Linked DNA regions of Homo sapiens: region 1 is linked to region 2. Evidence: promoter capture Hi-C in human tissues and cell types (Jung and others, 2019). All regions are on one chromosome and are shown on one strand. Each heading gives the region's core, a stretch centred on a gene start or on the middle of the fragment in contact. The rest is flanking DNA. Distances are from core to core; before and after follow the strand shown.

What was found. Contacts are between HindIII fragments. The study calls those that stand out against the background at their distance.
Region 1: a contact is called between a fragment that was not itself captured here and the fragment with the promoter of SDR16C5 in region 2, in 1 of the 25 tissues and cell types used here (small bowel).

What each region holds. Positions count from the first base shown.
Region 1 is chr8:56,455,620-56,459,446 of GRCh38, forward strand. All of the region lies in intron 1 of PENK-AS1 (PENK antisense RNA 1), which reads left to right. Among named protein-coding and RNA genes, the nearest start is that of PENK, 11 kb to the left of the region's middle. The HindIII fragment of the contact is 3,745 bases long and covers 670-3,827 here.
Region 2 is chr8:56,318,599-56,322,551 of GRCh38, forward strand. SDR16C5 (short chain dehydrogenase/reductase family 16C member 5) reads right to left here and starts at 1,577. Exons shown (of 7, transcript NM_138969.4): 1 at 1,461-1,577. The HindIII fragment of the contact is 11,880 bases long and covers 1-3,953 here.

The sequences.
Region 1 (3,827 bases), core at 1,292-3,791, 140 kb after region 2:
CTGGGACAATGTGGTCATGCCAATTCACCTAATGTGCACATCTTTGGGATGTAGGAGGAAGCTGGAGTACCCAGAGAAAACCTATGCAGACATGGGAAGAATGTGCAAACTCCACACATAACAGTGACCCTGGCTAGGAATTGATTTTTTTTCTCATCAACATTACAACAAAATGAAATATTTGAGGGCCTGCTGGAAGTCCTAGCTAATGCAATAAGATAAGAAAATAGATTGAAAGGTTTATAGATTGGGAAGGAGTAAATAAAGCTATCTTTATTTCTATACAGTGACATGATCATCTGTATAGAAAATCTGAAATAATTAAAAAAAACCTCCTAGAACTAATAAGCAATTATAGCAGGGTTGCAGGATGTTAGGTTAGTACACAAAAGTCAGTCACTTTTCTATATACCAACAATGGCAAGTGGAATTTGAAATTTAAAAACACTGTACCATGTACACTGGGACCCCCCAGATTTATCAGCATATGTACAAAATCTATAGGAAAACTACAAAACTCTGACGAAAGAAATTGAAGAAAAGCTAAATAAATGGAGAGATATTCCGTATTGATGGATAGGTAGACTCAATATTTTCAAGATGTTAGTTCTTCCCAGAGTTATCTATAGATTCAATGCAATCTAGTAAAAATCCCAGCAAGGTATTTTATGTTTATTGACAAACTGAGTCTAAAGTTTATGTGGATGGCAAAAAAGCCAGAATAGTCAGCACTTACTGAAGGAGAAGAACAAACTTGGAGGACTGACACCACTTGACTTCAAGTCTTACTACAAAGCTGACTTATAAAAATAGTGATCAAAACAGTATGCTATTGGCAAAAGAATAGACAAATAGGTTAATGGAACAGAATAGACAGCCCAGAAATTTACCCACATAAATATAGCCCACTGATTTTTGACAAAGAAGCAGAAGCACTACAACAGAGAAAGTCTTTTCAACAAATGGTGCTTGAACAATGGGACATTCATATGCAAATAAATGAAACTAGACACAGATCTTACACCTTTAAAAAAATTAACTGAAAATGGATCACAGGCAGACTTGTATATAAAATGTACAACTAGGACACACCAAAAACCCTGTTAGAACTAATGAACAAATTCAGTGAAATTACAAGATACAAAATCAACAAGTAAAATCAGCTGTGTTTCTGTAAACTAATGATGGCTATCTGAAAAAGAAATCAAGCAAACAATAGAGTTAAAAATTACTTAGGAATAAATTTAACCAAGGGGGTAAGAGATCTGTACATTGAAAACTATGAATCATTGATGAAATAAATTAAGGAAGACATAAAGAAAGATATCTCATGTTTATGAATTGGAATAATTAATATTGTTAACATATTCCTACTACCAAAGGGATCTAAAGATTCAGTGCAATCCCTATAAAAATTTCAATGGCATCTGTTTCCACAGAAATAGAAGAAATAATCCTAAAATCTGTATGGAACCACAAAACATCCAAACAGCTAAAGTAATCTTGAGGAAAAAGAAGAAAGCTGAAGAGATTACCTGATAACAAATATACTGCAAACCTATCGTAATCAAAACAGAATGAGATCAGCGTACAAATAAACATATAGGCCAATGGTAAAGCAGAAGAGTATAGAGAACCCAGAAATAAATCCATGGATTTATGATCAATTGATCTCTGACAAAAATGCTAAAAACACACAATGGGGAAGATGCTGTCTTTAATCAATGGTGTTGGGAAAACTGGATATCCACAAGCAAATGGATGAAATTGGACCCCATCTCACACTGTGTAGAATGCTTCAATGATCATGGGAGTGCTAATATCTCTTTGAGATCCTGATTTCAATTATTTGGATAAATACACAGATGTAGGATTGCTGGATCATATGGCAGTTCTATTTTTAATTTCTTGAGTAACCTTCATACCCATCTTCATAGTGGCTGCACCATTTTACCTTTCCACCAGCAGTCACAAGCGTTCTAATTTTTCCATGTCCTTGCTAAAACTTCTTAATTTCTGTTTTTTTTTTTAACATAATGGCTATTTTAGCAGATGTGAGATAATATTTCATTGTCGTTTTGATTGGCATTTCTCTGATGATTAATGATCATGAAAAGATATGAGAATCTTTTCATATACTTGTTGACCATTTATATATATTCTCTGGAGAAATGTCTATTCTAAACTTTTGACCATTTTAAAATAAGTTGTTTTAATCTATTGTTTGGATATATTTTGGATATTAACCTATTATGAAATATATGACTTACAAATATTTTCTCCCATTTCATAGGTTACCTTGTCACTCTGTTGACTGTTTCCTTGGCTATGCAGAAGCTTTTTAGATTGATGTGGTTCCACTTGTTTATTTTTGCATTTCTTGCCTATTTTTTGGTGTCTTATCCAAGAAATTGTCACCAGAGTAATGAAGCATTTCCACAATGCTTTCCTTCTAGTAGTTTTGTGGTTTCGGATCTTATGTATAAATCTTTACCCCATTTTGAGTTGATTTTTGTGTAAGATAATGATCCAATTTTCTTCTTTTTAATGTGTATATCCAGTTTTCCCAACACCATCTGTTGGAGAGACTATTTGTTCCCCATTGTGTTTTCTCTGCACCTTTGTTAAAAATCAACTCACCATAAATGCATGGATTTCTTTGCTGTCTATTCTATTCCATTGACTAATGTATCTGTATTTATGTCAGTATTATACTGTGTTCTTTTTTTGCCATTGTAGCTTTGTAATATATTTTGAAATCAGGAAATGTGGGACCTCAAGCTTTGTTCTTTTTTTCTTAAGATAGTTTTGGCTGTTCAGGGTCCTTTGTGGTTCCATCTGAATTTTAGAATCATTTTTTTCTAATTTTTGTAAAAAGTGCCATTGTGATTTTGATAGAGATTGCATCAGGTCTGTAGATCACTTTGAGTAGTACAGACATTGTAACAATATTAAATCTTCCAATCCATTAACATAGAATGTCTTTCTATTTCTTTCTTTCTTCTTTAATTCCTTTCAGCAATGTTTTGTAGTTTTCAGTGTGTAAGTTTTTTATTTCCTTGGTTAAGCTTATGCTTAAGCTTATTCTTTAATGATGCCATTGTAAATTGGATTATTTTATTAATTTCCTTTTCAGATGATTTATTAGTGTATAAAAACACACCTGATGTTTGTATGTTACTTCTTATCCTTCAGTGTCACTAAATTTATTTATTAGTTCTAATAGTTTATTGGTGGAGCTTTTACAGTTTCCTCTATATAAGATCATGTGATCCACAAACTGCAATAATTTTACTTCTTTCTTTGAGATTTGAATGCCATTTATTTCTTTTTCTTACCAAATTGTTCTGGCTAGGACTTCCATTACTATGGTAAATGGAGTGGCAAGAGCAGGCATCCTTTTCTTCTTCTTGATGTCACAGGAAAAGTTTTAGTTTTTCACCATCGAGTATAATGTTAGCTGTGGACTTTTCATATATAGCCTTTATTATGTTGATATAATTTCCTTCTCTTCGTTGTGTATTGATTTTTTTAATGAAAGTGTGTTGAATTTTGTCAAATGCTTGTTCTGCATCTATTGAGATCATTATTTGTGATTTTTATTCTTTGTTCTGTTAATGTGGTGTATCACATTGATTGATTTTCATATGATAAACCATCTTTATATCCCAGGGGTAACTCCCACTTGAGTCATGGTTAAGATCCTTTTAATGGTCTGTTTGCTCATATATTGTTAAGAATATTTACATGTGTATTTATTAGGGATATTGACCTGTAGCTTTCTTTTCTCATAGTGTCTTTCTCTGGCCTTTGTATCAGGGTAATGC
Region 2 (3,953 bases), core at 327-2,826:
GGGACAGAGGTCTACTTCTCCCATCACAGGGCTCCAGCACCTCAGCAGTGGCCAGAAGTCTCAACATTGACCTGGGTGACATGAACGCTCTTAATGTCAGGACATTCTAGATTTCAGTGTTCCACTGTCTCAATGTTGGCTTGATGCAAGACCTAAAATATGTCCATCTTTTAACCCTGTCTTGGCAGATGCTTACTAGATTTCTAAGAGCTTGTCAGCCTGAGTTACCTCCCTTCCCCAGTTGAAGTTTAGGGTGCCTGCTGGGTACCCACACAGGCAATGAGGTCTAGAGATTAAAGTTTGGGTTGGAATTCCAGATATATCACTGATTTTCCCTGCAACTTTGGTAGAAATGATTTAATCTCTTGTGCCTCAGTTTCCTCCTCTAAAAAGGGAGTTTCTAATAGTGCATAGGAATACTTACCACACAGAGGAGCTGTGAGAATTAAACCAGTTTATATAGGTAAAGTTTTAAGGAGCATTATGTGGTCACTACTAGCTTGTGTGAAACCTTCGAACAAATTAGAAAAAAAAAAAAAAAAAGGCATTGCCCTGCACAAAGTCCTCTGCGGGGTGCAAGGGGTTGGGGAGGGGGTGCAAGAGGAGCTGTTTGGATTTCAACACCTGCCAGCTTACATGTCTCCCCCTCTGCTCCTCAATCCCCATAATAATGTGGCACAGCCATAAAACATGGAGGCCTTTCTAGAACAGTGCCAGGCACAGAATGACAGCAAAATAATTAATGGCTAGAACTTCCACTGGTCCTGTTAAGCATATGAATTAATAATCCCTGGCTATATCAATTAAATATGGTTATAGTATACTTACAAACAAGAGTGAATGTACGGTTCCATTTTACTGCAAAGACTTTCCTAGAATGTTACGGAGCGTATACAATTTAATCTGGCAGAAGTCTTCTAGGTGTCCCTATCTCGCGGCCTACCCAATCCAAACAGGCGCCCTCGGCTTCCCATACCAGTGCGCGGCAGCAAGTCGGCTCTGGTGAGGGCACCCGGACGAAACGGGAGGGCAGACAGACTGACAATCACAGCTTGGGTTGAAAGGGGTGATATGGGGGTTGATATCCACCCGGAAGGTGGATGCACTGAGCAGCAGAGAGCAGGGAACCTGGGCAGAACGGACCGAAGAAGAGGGTCCGGGGAGGCATCCTGCCCTCTGCTCCGGGTGGGGAGGGAGGCTGGCAGCTCACCCCCGGGGGCGAGGGGTCTGCGTTAGCCGTAGCCACGGGAGCCCGGGCTTCTGGGACGCTCAGCCGTGCGCTACCCGGTGCAGCTGCTTTCTCACCAGCTCGCGGGTGGGTCCTGCCGCGGCTCGGCGACCCGCGCCCCCTTGCGAGCGACCCAGCGTGAAACCAGCCCAAAGGGCGGCCTCGCCCGACCCCCGCCAGCGCGACCTCCTCCGGGAGCCAGCACCCAGGACCGACGACCTCGGCAACTTACCCAGGACACTCTCCCTAGCTGTCCGCGGAGAAGCCGGCCTCGTCTGCCCCAGGCACCCGAGTCCCTGGCTCGGAGCTCAGTCAGGTTCAGGTGTTTATCCAGGCGCCGCCCAAGTCCAAGGGCGGGACTGCCGCGGCAGCGCCAGGGGTGGGGCCGGCCGTAGCCCCAGTGCGCGACGTGGGCAGCACTCCCATCTTCTTTTTCTGGACCTGCAGATTTAAGAAGCTGGAAATTCGGTGGTGGAAACTGGATGCGTGCGCCGGATTTCTCTTAGGCTTAACGTTTCAATGCCTAGGCTGTACCCTAGATTATTAGATGGGAATTTCTGGGTTGGTAGGGGCCTAGGCATTAGCTAGAAAAGTTTCCCAGGTATTTGCAAGGCACAACCCCGAGGTTGGGAACCCTGGAATTAGAGAACAGAGCAGTATAGGCGTCCACGGGGGAGGGGCCAGGTCGTGTGTCTGGAGCCTGCAGTGCGGGGAGTTCTCCAGCAGCATCTGACTGCTCCACATGGGATCTTAAGTCAACAGCTTCCTTGCCCCTTGGAGGTAAAGGATGTGGGCGTGGGCTCGGAAGTCCCCGGGAAGTGGGTGGGGTGCAGGCAGGGGCAGGAGTGGGTGCGGCGCTGGCAGGCGGCCTAGGAGAAGAGGGCGAGGAAATTTGTTCTAACAAGATGAAGCCGAGAAATGAGGCTAGCGTAAGAGTCACCAGGCACTCTGACCCAATCAAGATATATTAAGCATCTGGGTGTACAGCGATCCAGAAGATAACAGCGATGATATATCTGTCAAGAAAAAAAAAAAGGAAAAACATTCATTAATAAATCAATAAAAGAGTTAATATAAGCACAAGACACCACTGAGATGCTAATAATAGAGGGTGAACTTTTCTGGGGGCAATGAGGGGCAGAAATGACAATAAATTATGGGATGTTGAAAGAAAAACAGGGGAGTCATGATGAGATTGGGTTTGAAATTTATCCCGGGGCTGAGTAGGACAGGAAAAGTGGTGAGGGGTCGAAGAGCAGCCTTAGCCAGCCCATATCTGGGACAGGTCTGGAGTAGAGGAACTGCACATTTGTTCTTTATTTGGGTGACAGAAGAAACAGGCAGGTCGTATAAGCTTGGAAAAGTAGGTGCAGGGGAAACCCTCGACTGTCTTTTCAGTACTTAAGAGGTTACTTGTGTGCTTTAGGCAGCAGCAGCGAGCTGTGGCAAGCTATGCGAGGCGTGTGGGAAGGTGAGTGGGTAAATGTGCGTGCATTGGTTTCAAGTCAGCCGTCACCACACAGCGACACTGCTGTGTGGGGCTCTGGGGAGTTGCAGGGCTTCTGAGGGAGAAGGGAGACACATTCATAAACAGTGCGGGTGATAGACATGCACCCCAGGTGCTTCCAGAGTCCACAACCAGCCTGCAGGAGGAGAGGCAGTTGGACTCAAAGGGCCTTCCAGAATGGGCTAAGGTGTGGAGGTGAGCAGCACCTGGGAGTGAGAGTGGACTGAGGCAGAGAGACGTCGGGTAATGGGCCCTTGATGGTGCAGCCTGCCTGCAAGAGTTCAGATGAGTGGACACTGGGAAACACCAGCCTCCTATTATCTTCATGGCTTCTCTGAGCAGAATCCTAGGCTGTCACTCTTCTTTCTGGTCAGAAGCCCTGGGTGGACCTCAAGAAAGAAATTTGGAGCATTATTAGAAATCTCATCAGTACAAAAGATGAGAGTGAGTAGTGGGGGATGCACCGGTGACGCAGTGAAAGAAGCCAGAGGCCCTGCTGGTTGGAAAGGGTCCTGCTTTGACTTGATGTGGGGGAAACTCAGAGGACTGACCATAATCCTGAAAGCTGGGAAAGGATTTCTAAAGGGTCTCTTTTGGCAAAGGCTAGGAATGGACAGTTTATGATAGAACATGTGTCATGGGCTAATAAACATGAAAAAGTGGTTTAATCTTATTCTCAATTTCTTTGATCTTAGGGCCAAAGAGATGCATATGAAAACATTTCTTACCTTACAAATTGAAAGTTTTTTTTTTTTTTTAAAAGAATGCCTTCATATGGGGGTATAAATTATACATTTCTGGAAAACAAATATGTTTCAGGAATTAGAAAGGGATATATCCTCTGACCCAATTCCACCTTTATCTTTACCAAATACCCAGGTATTGTCTGTGGCCTTTCAGGAAGGGAAACTGGGTCACTGAGAGTCAGGGATGGGAAAGAGACTTTCCACTCCACTGAATCATGTGAAGTAGTACCTTTTTAGGAAACAAGTATATTAATCAAAATAAATTGATCTTTAATTCCTAAGAAGTATGTGCCGATGGAGTACTCTACAGCCATCTTTATAAAATCATGTTTTTCAAGGGTATGAAGTACACTTCACAGAATATGAGTTTAAAAAACACAGTACAAGACTAAATATATTTGCTATGATTCTAATTTCTATGAAAATTTTATGTACATGCATTAGAAACACTGGAAGAGAGTTCATCAACATC